Linked DNA regions of Homo sapiens: regions 1 and 2 are each linked to region 3. The links are contacts of gene promoters, found by promoter capture Hi-C in blood cells and fetal thymus (Javierre and others, 2016). All regions are on one chromosome and are shown on one strand. Each heading gives the region's core, a stretch centred on a gene start or on the middle of the fragment in contact. The rest is flanking DNA. Distances are from core to core; before and after follow the strand shown. Region 1 overlaps LOC101929154 (a long non-coding RNA gene). Region 2 overlaps LOC101929154 (a long non-coding RNA gene). Region 3 holds the start of OTP (orthopedia homeobox).

The links. Contacts are between HindIII fragments. The CHiCAGO score rates a contact against its expected background, and 5 or more counts as called.
Region 1: a fragment that was not itself captured here is called in contact with the fragment with the promoter of OTP in region 3 in 1 of 17 cell types (M2 macrophages); the score reaches 5.1 in M2 macrophages.
Region 2: a fragment that was not itself captured here is called in contact with the fragment with the promoter of OTP in region 3 in 4 of 17 cell types (naive B cells, total B cells, M2 macrophages and 1 more); the score reaches 6.2 in naive B cells.

What each region holds. Positions count from the first base shown.
Region 1 is chr5:77,937,009-77,940,488 of GRCh38, forward strand. The region is part of intron 1 of LOC101929154 (a long non-coding RNA gene); the gene reads left to right. Among named protein-coding and RNA genes, the nearest start is that of TBCA, 160 kb to the left of the region's middle. RefSeq lists a silencer at 120-289. The HindIII fragment of the contact is 1,101 bases long and covers 1,318-2,418 here.
Region 2 is chr5:77,956,883-77,960,304 of GRCh38, forward strand. It overlaps LOC101929154 (a long non-coding RNA gene), which reads left to right. Exons shown (of 2, transcript NR_105012.1): 2 at 1,978-2,214. Among named protein-coding and RNA genes, the nearest start is that of TBCA, 180 kb to the left of the region's middle. RefSeq lists enhancers at 335-846, 1,358-1,868, 1,869-2,379. The HindIII fragment of the contact is 4,643 bases long and covers 1-3,422 here.
Region 3 is chr5:77,636,417-77,640,094 of GRCh38, forward strand. OTP (orthopedia homeobox) reads right to left here and starts at 2,297. Exons shown (of 3, transcript NM_032109.3): 1 at 2,097-2,297; 2 at 405-814. The coding sequence starts at 2,133. RefSeq lists enhancers at 2,283-2,839, 2,840-3,394. The HindIII fragment of the contact is 2,017 bases long and covers 1,302-3,318 here.

The DNA.
Region 1 (3,480 bases), core at 618-3,117, 300 kb after region 3:
AAGACTAGCTTGGCCAACATGGTGAAACCCTGTCTCTGCTAAAAAATATAAACATTAGCTGGGTGAGGTGGTGGCGTGCACCTGCAATCCCAGCTACTTGGAGGCTGAGGCAGGAGAGTTGCTTGAACCTGAAAGGTGGAGGTTGCAGTGAGCCGAGATTGTGCCACTGCACTCCAGCCTGGGCAACAAAGTGAGACTCCGTCTCAGAAAAAAGAGGAACAAAGTATTGAAACATGCTACAGTGTGGCTGAACCCAGAAAACATTATGCTAAGTGAAAGAAGCAAGACACACAAGATCACATATTATATGATCCCATTTATATGAAATACTCAAAGTAGGTCAATCCATAGAGGCAGAAAGCAGATTGGTGGTAGCCAGAGGCTAGGAAGAAGCAGGAAGAGGGGGTGACTGCTTAGTACAGGGTTTTCTTTTGGGGTGATAAAAATGTTTTGGAACTAGATAGAGGTGGCTCTTGCCCAACATTGTAAGTGTACTAAATGCCACTGAATTGTACACTTCAAAGTGGTAAATTTTGTTATATGAATTTTACCTTAATGAAAAATAATAATAAATTATAAAGCACATGAAAATCTAATTAGCATTTCTCAGGGGAAAAACAGCCTCAGGAAGATTAAGTGACTTATGAAAGAACAGAAACTTTCAAAACGAAACAAAGAAGTTCATTCTGAGGGGAGAATGCCGGTCTTTTGACAGGCCAGGAAGGGCTTCTATCCTGCTCTGGGTAGGAATAGAAGTCTAAGCTCTTAAGATGTCACCATTCTCAGCTCTGAAATTTTGTTCTGACTCCCGTATCTCTTGCAAAACCCAATCCCCATAGCACTGTTTCCAGCCTCTTCTACTTATCAGTTCACAGCAAAAGGAAGACAAAATGATCATTTAGAATAAGGAGGTAAAGGGTCATTGGGAGACCAGAGAACTTCTCTCTTTATCTTGTCTAAAGAAAAAGAAGGTTCCTGAATACTGAGTGATAAATTGAGAAGATAGAAAGCTTTGTTAGAATAGAAGGGAATGAAATTAAAAAAAAAAAAAAAAAGAAATGAAAGCTTTGTTAGAGATGCATATCCCTCCCCAGTTCAACCGAAGCAGAATCTGCATTTTACCAAGATTCTCAGGTAATCCGTGTGCTCAGGAAAAGTTTGAGACACAGTGCTCCGGGCCACTAGACATGTAACAGAGTCTCTCCATAATGAAAATGAGGGTGTCGGAGATGTAAACAGTAAGTCATGTTGGACCTCTTAGGCCATTTGTTCTGAGTAGAATGTTAATTTCCATCATCTTTACCAACATCTCTGAAAAGCTTGTGAACGGTGGAGAAAGCACATGGGCTGTTCACCCAGTTACAACAAACTGCAGATATTCTTAGCCTCCATTATTCTGTACCCTGAAAACCATGATGTCACCTCTCCAGTTTCTAGTAATCTCTCTAGTTCACAGGTAAATGTCCAGCAAGGCATTATTAAATTACTAAACATCACAGCTACTGGAATCTTTAGGAGTCATCTGGCCAGCGTTCCCAAATGCTATTCCACGGATCAGTTCTGAGCTAGCTACATCAAAATCACCTGGGGTGCATTTCAAAAGCAGATCCCTAGGGTGTAGAATCTTCTCATTAAGTCTGGAAAGAAGCCATGAAATATGTTTTTAAAAAGCTCTCCAGGTGATTCTAATGCACAAATTTGGACACAATCTGTCTAGCTCTGCTCATGCATCCACAGCCACAGCCCAAATACCTTCAGAAACAGAACTTTCATTGCAGAGAGCTAATTGTCAGAAAGCTCTTTCCAACACATTGCGTCAATACCTGCCTCTATAATTTCTACCTTTTGTTCTGTCCTTTTGAGCCATACAAAATCATGTGAGTGTGTTTTTGATGTAGAATCTCTCTTTCACATGATACGACAGCTTTTCAAATGTCTGGTTCCACACACTGTGTCCATATGTCTTCTCTAATAATACTTTTTGCCTTGAAGTCTATTTTGTTTGGTAATAATGAAGCTACCAACTTTTTTCCCCTAGTCTTTTACTTTTAGTCTTACTGTTTCCTAATAATTTTGATTTGTCTGTTATAAGCAAAATACAGCTAGATTTTTAAAATTCAGTCTAATAATTTCTTTGAATTGGCAAGTTTAGGCAAATTACATACACATATTACTAATATGTTTGAAATTATTTCTACCATCTTATTCTACACTCTCTTTTATCCTATTTTTCTCTCTCTCTTCTTTTCTTTCCTGCATTCTGGCAGATGGGTTGAAGTTTCTTTGCCTTCCTTCCCTCTCCCTCCTTCTCTTCCCCAAGTGCCCTGGTTTTGGAAGTTGTATCAGCATCAGTAGGCATTTATAGAGGTTATTTTTTAAAAATTTTGAATAACATGAATATGTAACAAAATCTCAACAAGCTTTAAGAATAGTTATTATTCTTAAAAATTTGGCCCATGTGCTTACCAAAATCTAAAGTTAATCACTATCTATTCTGCCTCCTCAACAAGTCATGGAGCTTAGAACCCTTTACCTACAGGCCAGGCGCCGTGGCTCACGCCTGGAATGCCAGCACTTTGGGAGGCTGAGATGAGCGTATCACCGGAGGTCAGGAGTTTGAGACCAGCCTGGCCAACATGGTGAACCCTGTCTCTACTAAAAATACAAAAATTAGCTGGGTGAGCTGGGACCTGTAGTCCCAGCTACTCGGGAGGCTGAGGTAGGAGAATCACTTGAACCCAAAATACCCGAAAGGTGGAGGTTGCAGTGAGATGAGATGGCGCCATTGCACTCCAGGCTCCATCTCAAGAAAAAAAAAAAAAAAGGGACACTTTAACTTCAAGTAATCCCCTCCTGCTTTCCATATACCTGCTGTTCAATATTTTAAATTTAGTTTTTTTTTTTAATCCCCAGTAAATTACTATTGTTGCTGTTGCTTTATGTCAGTTATTCTTTGGACTCATTCACATATTTATTTGCTTCCTTTTTTTTTTTTTTCTTTTTGAGATGGAGTTTCGCTCTTGTTGCCCAGGCTGGAGTGCGATGGTGCAATCTCAGCTCACTGCAACCTCCGCCTCCCAGGTTCAAGCAATTCTCCTGCCTCAGCCTCCAGAATAGCTGGGATTACAGGCGAGCACCACCACGCCTGGCTAATTTTTTGTATTTTTAGTAGAAACGATATTTCACCATGTTAGGCAGGCTGGTCTCGAACTCCTGACCTCAGGCTCATCTCAGCCTCCCAAAGTGCTGAGATTACAGGTGTGAGCCACTGTGCCCAGCCCTGCTTCCTATTCTTTCATCTCAATTCTTCCTTCTGGATTCAATTTTCTTATTCACTGAGGATCTATTGGTAAAATATGCTCTCAGGGTTTGTCTAAAAACATTTTCATTTTTCTCTCACTATTGTATGATAACTTAGCTGAATGCAGAGTTCTTGGTTGACAGTTATTTTTCTGAGCACTTTGACTATATTATTAATTT
Region 2 (3,422 bases), core at 682-3,181, 320 kb after region 3:
TTTGTTATATTATACCTTTTGTGTTGTTGTTTATAGTTAGGCCCTCATGTTTTTGCCTCTCTTTCTTTTCTTCGTTCCTTCTATCTTCTCTTCTTCTAAATCACATGTAGGATATATTATTCAATATTTTTATTTGGAATAGTAAAAGATATTACAACTTTTTTCTTTCTTTCTTTTTCTTTCTTTCTTTTTTTTTTTTTTTTCTGAGACACGATCTCACTCTGTTGTTCAGGCTGGAGTGCAATGGCACAATCACGTCTCACTGCAGCCTGGACCTCCCAGGCTCAAGTGATCCTCCTGCCTCAGCCTCCTGAGTAGCGGGGACTGCAGGCGTGTGCCACTATGCCCAGCTAATTTTTGTATTTTTGGGGTAGAGAGGGGGGTCTCACTGTGTTGCCCAGGCTGGTCTCGAACCCCTGAGCTCAAGAGATCCTCCCACCTTAGCTTCCCAAAGAGCTGGGATTACAGGCGTGAGCCACCGCGCTGGGCATTAGGAAGTATTTGTTATGAAAAGACGGTTGCTGCCACCCAACGCTGTTGAGAATCGCTATCAAGACGCGTGTCCTCAAGTTCAATTTCCAAAATTTCCTGGAAACTGTTTTATGTTACTTCACTGTCAGAAGACCCAGCACGGGTATGCGAAGGGAGGTCTGAGAGCCTCAGAAACAACACGTAAAACACACACACGCACACACCCCCCCAACCAAACCACCCCGTCCTCTGGGGAAGAGGGTCCCTCTGCCTGATTCCCTGGAGATGGCTCCCCGCCCAGGGCCCAACTCTCTTCTCCTGGACGCCATCTCCCCGGAGCTGGGGGCCTCGGCTCCGCAACGGCTGCGAAGTTTCACCGATGCCGCAGGCCTAAGGCCACCCTTGGTCCCAAACCCAGCGCCGGGACGCGCGCCCCAGCCCCATCGGAGCTGCCATGGCCCCATGATTAGGGCCACGGTGGCCCCTGACTTTCTCTTATTAATGTTTTTTTTTAATTGTAAATCATTACTCAGCTCAGCTCAGTCACCAGGCAAACTGTGTTTAATAAATTAGCTTAATCTATTCCGCAAGTGGTTTGTGAGTGCTGTGTTTCCTCTGGTTAAGGAAAACATTTATATTCTCTCTCCTTGCCCAGCGTTCCTGGGCTCCCGGAGTCGCTACCCAGGCCGGGCGCACGGGGAGGCCTGGAGCGGGAGGCTCTCGGCCCGCCGCTCGCGGGAACCCCCACCTCGGGCGGCCGGGAGGGCAGTTGGTGGCGGCGTGGCCTCTTTGTCCCCGTCAGCCCGAGGCGGCGCTGGTGCCCACCCGGCCTCCCCGTGGCCCAGCCCCGCGCCTCCGCCCCGGGCAGCGCGCATTCCCCTCTTCCAGAGGGGCCTCTTTAACGGCTCCCCATGAAATAATCATTCATTATGTCACCAGGAGGGAAGAAAGGGAGTGTAAGTGTCTTGATGGGATTAGAGGAAACCCCCGCAGAGATGATTTAGGGGCCGTGATAATTCATTTAATAGGGGCCTGGGGCAAATTGCTAGACAGGGAAATGGAACTGAAGCAGCTCGAAAGGGCGCCCGGCAAGGCTGTGGCGGGGGAGCCGGCTTCATTAGCAATATTTAAGAGATTTCATTTAAGAATGAGTCATAAAATGCAGTACTATTTTATCCACCTGGTTTGGTGGCCTTTAGCTTTCCTCTGCATGAATATTAAATGTGAAATGGCACTACAGCAACACATTTTGGAAAGTGTTCTTTAGGCTGTTATTTGTATGGTTGGTTTAGTTTCTCGTTTGTTAACCTTTTAAAATGAATATCATTGAAAATGGATAACTGTACAACCAGAGCTCGAAAAACATTAGGGGGAGTATAATGCTTTAGAATAGGTTGTTACTAAACTGGGTAAAGGATTTAAGTTTTTATTGATCAAAACACAAAAGGCATAGAGAGCAAGTCAGTAAATGGCAAATTACTTTGACAATTCCCAATTTTCATGCAGATTTTGTGAAGCTGTCCCATTCAAAGCCACCCCCAGAGGCCCGGAGGAGACCACAAAGCTGCGAACACAGCCGGGACCTGCCCACTGACACACTGAAGAGTCAACACGATTCAGGAAAGCACTTTCAAAGAGTGTTTTATCTTGGACAGATAATATTCCGTTTTGTTTCTGAGAGGCAATGACAATCTCTAGTTCGATTGTAAAACTATTTCCTTCAAATATACATTTTTATCTATGGAGAGTGGTGTTATTTGGGGTTTTACAAACCTAAGAAGTTTACATTTGGCAACAGTGATTGTTCCCATTACAACTACAATGTAAAAAAACAGATTCTCTTTTGGTGTGCATCCTCCCCTCTTTGGTTTCGAGGGTGACTTTCCCACGCATATCTGCCACTCACTTGGGAAGTCCTAGTCTGGAAACATTTTAGCAAATACGTAACCATCGTTCCATTGTGGCCCACACATTTGCCTGACCTGACATTCTTCCCCAAAACTCTTATATTTGCAAACTAAAACATTAGCTCTTGATTCCCTCCTCTTCCACCTTTTAAAACTAAAAATAGCTCTTCCAGATAGGCTGTTTTCATTTTTTTTTTTTTTTTAATCGCAGCTGCACTCTGTTATTTTAACAAAACAACTGGCAGGTCTCTATTCACAGAGCTGCTTTAGCCACATAGGATACATAAGATGCATAATCAATATGTTCTTTAAAAGACTCTCTTAATCAGAAAAGATGCTAACTACATGTAAAATTATTCACTTACATATATTGGTTTGTGCAATTTTCCACAGTGACAGTAAAGTTGGTAGCTAAATATGTTTTTATACATAACAAAACTTAGCGAATGTCTTTTGTAAGGCATGCATTGTGAGGGTAGTATTAATATTTGTGTTTCTACGTTTATATTCCACCATCCCCTAGTAAAGATGTTCTATTTTATACAGAGTTGTAAACCACTTTGAAATATAGTGAGATGCTCTATTTTGAATAAAATCAGGTTACTGATGTACTAAATAGGCAGCGTCTGGACAAAAGCAAGCCTCACTGAAGGTGGGTTAGTTCCCTCTAGAGCCTGTCCCCAGTCCTGAGTTCTCAGACTTTTCTCAGTGTTTCCCTTTAGTGAAAAGGAGCCAGGATTAGCCATGAGCAGTCATGGTCAATGTTCTGAGAAGTTTTGAGAAGGAAACTCCTCTTCAGCAAAAGAACTTTCATTCTCTCCTTCTTCCTGTGAAATGGCACTCTAAAGGTGACCAAGGCAACCCAAAGAAAGATACCTGTTTGCAACATCTATTTTTGCTTTTCAGAAATAGGATTTAGTTGCCAATTAGAAAGCCAGAAAGCAAAGAAGATCCCTGCACTGCCACTTAGAATGGTTATAGCCACACACTAGCAGAAACTGAAAGATTCATCGGAAAACAACCCCCAATCCTTGGCCTTGCATT
Region 3 (3,678 bases), core at 1,047-3,546:
CCTTTTATCCAAACGCTTAACACAAACTCATTAGGGGGTAATATTTGTCAATAATGCGAGCAGGAGTTGAGGTGTGCGCTCGGCTGGGCCGCCCGGGGGGGCGCTGAGGTTGCCTTCTCAGGCGGAGGAGGCGAACCCTGTAGCCCGACAACGCCGGGCTTCGATTTTGAGGAGCTTCTTCCGGGATGTCGCTATACTGGCCGGAGACGGGCCTTGCGTGTCCATTGGGGGATGGCGATGGGGACCAGTTTCCGGGTAGAGAAGGAGATAACTCGATACAGGAACGCACAGGCAGCCTGAAAGCAGCCCAGGATCTCGACAGGGGAAGGGAAGACCCTGCTCCCTTTGCCCAAATCCTCCCGCCCTGTCCTTGCCTTCTGTCCCAGATCCCAAGCCCCTCGTACCTGCACTCGGGACTCGGTCAGCCCGATACGCAGTGCCAGCTCCTCACGCATAAAGATGTCGGGGTAGTGAGTCTTGGCGAAGCTCCTCTCCAACTCGTTGAGCTGTGCGGGGGTGAAGCGCGTCCGGTGGCGCTTCTGCTTCTGTTGGCCCTGCTGCTGGCCGGCTTGGCTGGGGTTCGGGCCGCCCTGGGGCCCGGGCTGCTTGTCCGGGTCTTTGGCGCTCACCGCCAGCGAGGCCGGAGTAGAGCCCACTGTGGTGATGTCCTCCCCGGGCAGCAGAGTGGCTCCCTCCACTGGGTCAGAGTTGGGCGCCAGGTCCCCCGGATGGCCCCCGGGGTCGGAGCCCCCCACGCCCAGCCTACACTTCACCGCCTCCCGGTGGCCCAGAAGCTCGGCGGCATCTTTCATACCTGAGGAGGCAAGGGGATCGCGGTCACTACTTTCTTGGCGATGCCAGGAGGGGCTGTCTTCCCCGCGCAGCCTTCCTTCAACCCGTCCTCGGCCCCCTCCGCACCCGCGCTTGTCCTAAGGAAGAAACTCCCAGGGTATTCAGCTGGGTTCCCCAGAATTTGGACAGCCGGGTTGGAATAATATCTCCCGGCCCCTTGCCCTCGCCGCAGCCGGCTCCCGTAGTAAACAGCACAAGCTTTCGTCTCTCCCACAATAAAACACTCCCAGTCCCGGCAATAAAACATGCCTCTGAATCCCTTCCATAAACCGTACCCCAGGCGCCCCAGGAAATCGAGAGCAAATCTTTGGACACAGGGGTGCGGGGGGCAGAAAGAAAATTAAACAATTCCTCGGTTGCTGCGGCACCTGCGCTTCGGCAGCCTGACGAACTGTACCTCCGGCCCTCAGCCGATTCCCTCTTACTTTCGGAAGATGAATAAGCCTCCAAGCTTTCACCCCCCGAAATCAACCCAAATCAGCTCCGCCTCCCCCTCAAATCAGAGAAAGTGTTTGGAAAATGGAGTCACATCCATCACCGAAGATTCCCAATCCGGAAACCCAGAGCTCAGCAACCCAGATAGCATTAAGGAAACTCGAGTGAACTCTATGGACAACCGTGAATCAAACTTTAGAGATTTCAACTTTTCTTTCCAGAGAAATAAAAGGCGCATTCCTCACAGCCATTGGCAACGCTGAGTCCCTTGCAGAAGAGGGGGGGATGACTGTGAGGTTGAATTTGGCTTCTCTCCTTCTCAACCAGCACACTTAGCAAATCCGCCTTGATGGCAGCAGCTTCTCCTTTATGCCAGATTTTTTACAAATTACACCACACTTAGAAAAGGAGGAGAGAAGAAGATGGTGGGGAGAGAGAAACGGGGGGAGGGAAGGAGAAAGAAATCCCAAATCAAAACAAACAGGAGAGGGAAAAAAGAGAGAGAAACACCTCCTAACAAATTATCACGGGGTATATCGCCTTTCGAAAAAAAAAAAAAGGCGGGGGAGGGGGGAAGAGAAAAATAAGAAAAACAAAAAGTAACAACATTCCCCAACTCCTTTCTTGGATCTACATATTCCATAGATTTTTTTTTAAAGGCGATGTTAAATCAAATTAAACTTTAATGCAGCACAATTACTTTTAAAGAAATTAGTCCATTTAGGTCGCATTAAGGTAAAATAAGGAACAAATTGACAATTTCCTGCCCCGGCTTCTCCTGGCTGCCCGGGCGAGAGGCGCGCACTCACCTAGCCTGGCGTCCAGGAGGTCGGCATGAGACAGCATCGCGCACCGCTCCAGGGCGAAAGCTGTTCCCCCCCAAATTTTAGCGGCTTTAAGTTATTTAAAATAGATATAAGCTATAAGCTATACGATATAGATATATATAGATCACCTAAATGAAAGAAAATTCGGTTTGTGGTTAAAAAGGGGGCTTCTTGCATTATAATGTCCTTTAGAGAGACGGGGAGGTGCTTAACAGTTGAATGAACCCGTGAGCAGCTCGGCGAGGGGACCAATCAGGAGGGCAGCCTGCAAATGTCAGCGCCCGGAGAGTCCCCCACTCCGCCCGCCCGCTCGCCTGCGCCCGCCTGAAGGAGGCGGCGGCGGCAGCCCTGGCAGCTCCAGCCCGGAGCAGGAGCTAAAGCAGCCTCAGCCGCCTCGGCCTCGCCCTGAGCTTCTGGGCCCGGCTCCCTCTAGTTCTTCCCTGCGATTTTCTCCAGGCTCCCCTTTCCTTCCCCTTGGCCGGCGCTGCGCGCTTCGAAGGCGTAGCTCTGTGCCTCTGAGCTAACATCTTCCTAGGGCAGGGGCAGAGCAGGGGTCAGAGCGGGCCATGACCCTGGCGTGACCTGAGGGTCGCCCCCACCTGCGCTCTCTGGGCCTGCCGCTCATATTGGCCCGCCAGCCCAGGGCGCGACGAGGGCACACCGCGGCCTTCAGACAACGCCTGGACTTCGCCGCGGCTCAGTAGGCCTGCGCCTAGGGTCCAGGCGCCCTGGCTGTGCCCTGGGGTCTATACGAGCCCCAACCCCACAGTGGGCCTAGAGCGCAAAGAGGAGTCGGCTTCCCTGGCACCGCCAGCGCCCGCTGTCTGCTTTGGGGACCCTCGCGGAGTGTGGGTTCGAGCGCTCTGCACTCTTCTCACCGGGCTTCTTCCCGGCTCCTGCTCTTCCGCTTGGCCCACGCCCGCATCCTCGCCCCTAACTCGCTCTTTTGGTCAAAGTTTCTAAGTTCAGCTCGGCTCCCAACTCCACTTAAGGCTGTAAATAAAGTTAAATGCTCTTTATTTTCCTCTTGAATATGTTAAACTACTTGAACAATTTAAAGTGCTTTGCACAAGTGAAGCGAACCATTTCTAATGTTCTGATTTTTCAGAGCCAGCCAACAACAAAGTTTAGATTAGTAATATATTTCTAACCAGAGTAATTTTCAAGATCATTAGGCATTTATGTAATTAGTGCCAAATCTATAAGCTTTTATTACGATTATTAGAGTAAAATCAGTATAAATTTGTACTAATTTACTACTGTTTAGACTTGGCTGTCAAGCCTAGAGGTTCTTATTGTAAATGATAACTGAGGAAATTAAGTGCAAAATTCTGTACCATTTCTGATCTGCTCCTAAACAATCCGTTTCAATTGTATTTGTAGCAGAACATAATGCCCTTTTAAAGTTATTTGACTTGTATTTTTATTTGCAACACAAGAAAAATGCCCTCTACCCAGTCACAATGAAAACTGATATTTACTACTCCCAACTTGATTAACATTGATTTTTAATTCGAGAGTGATGCAATTAAGATTATTCATTTAGTGCAAATAAACCTTCCAC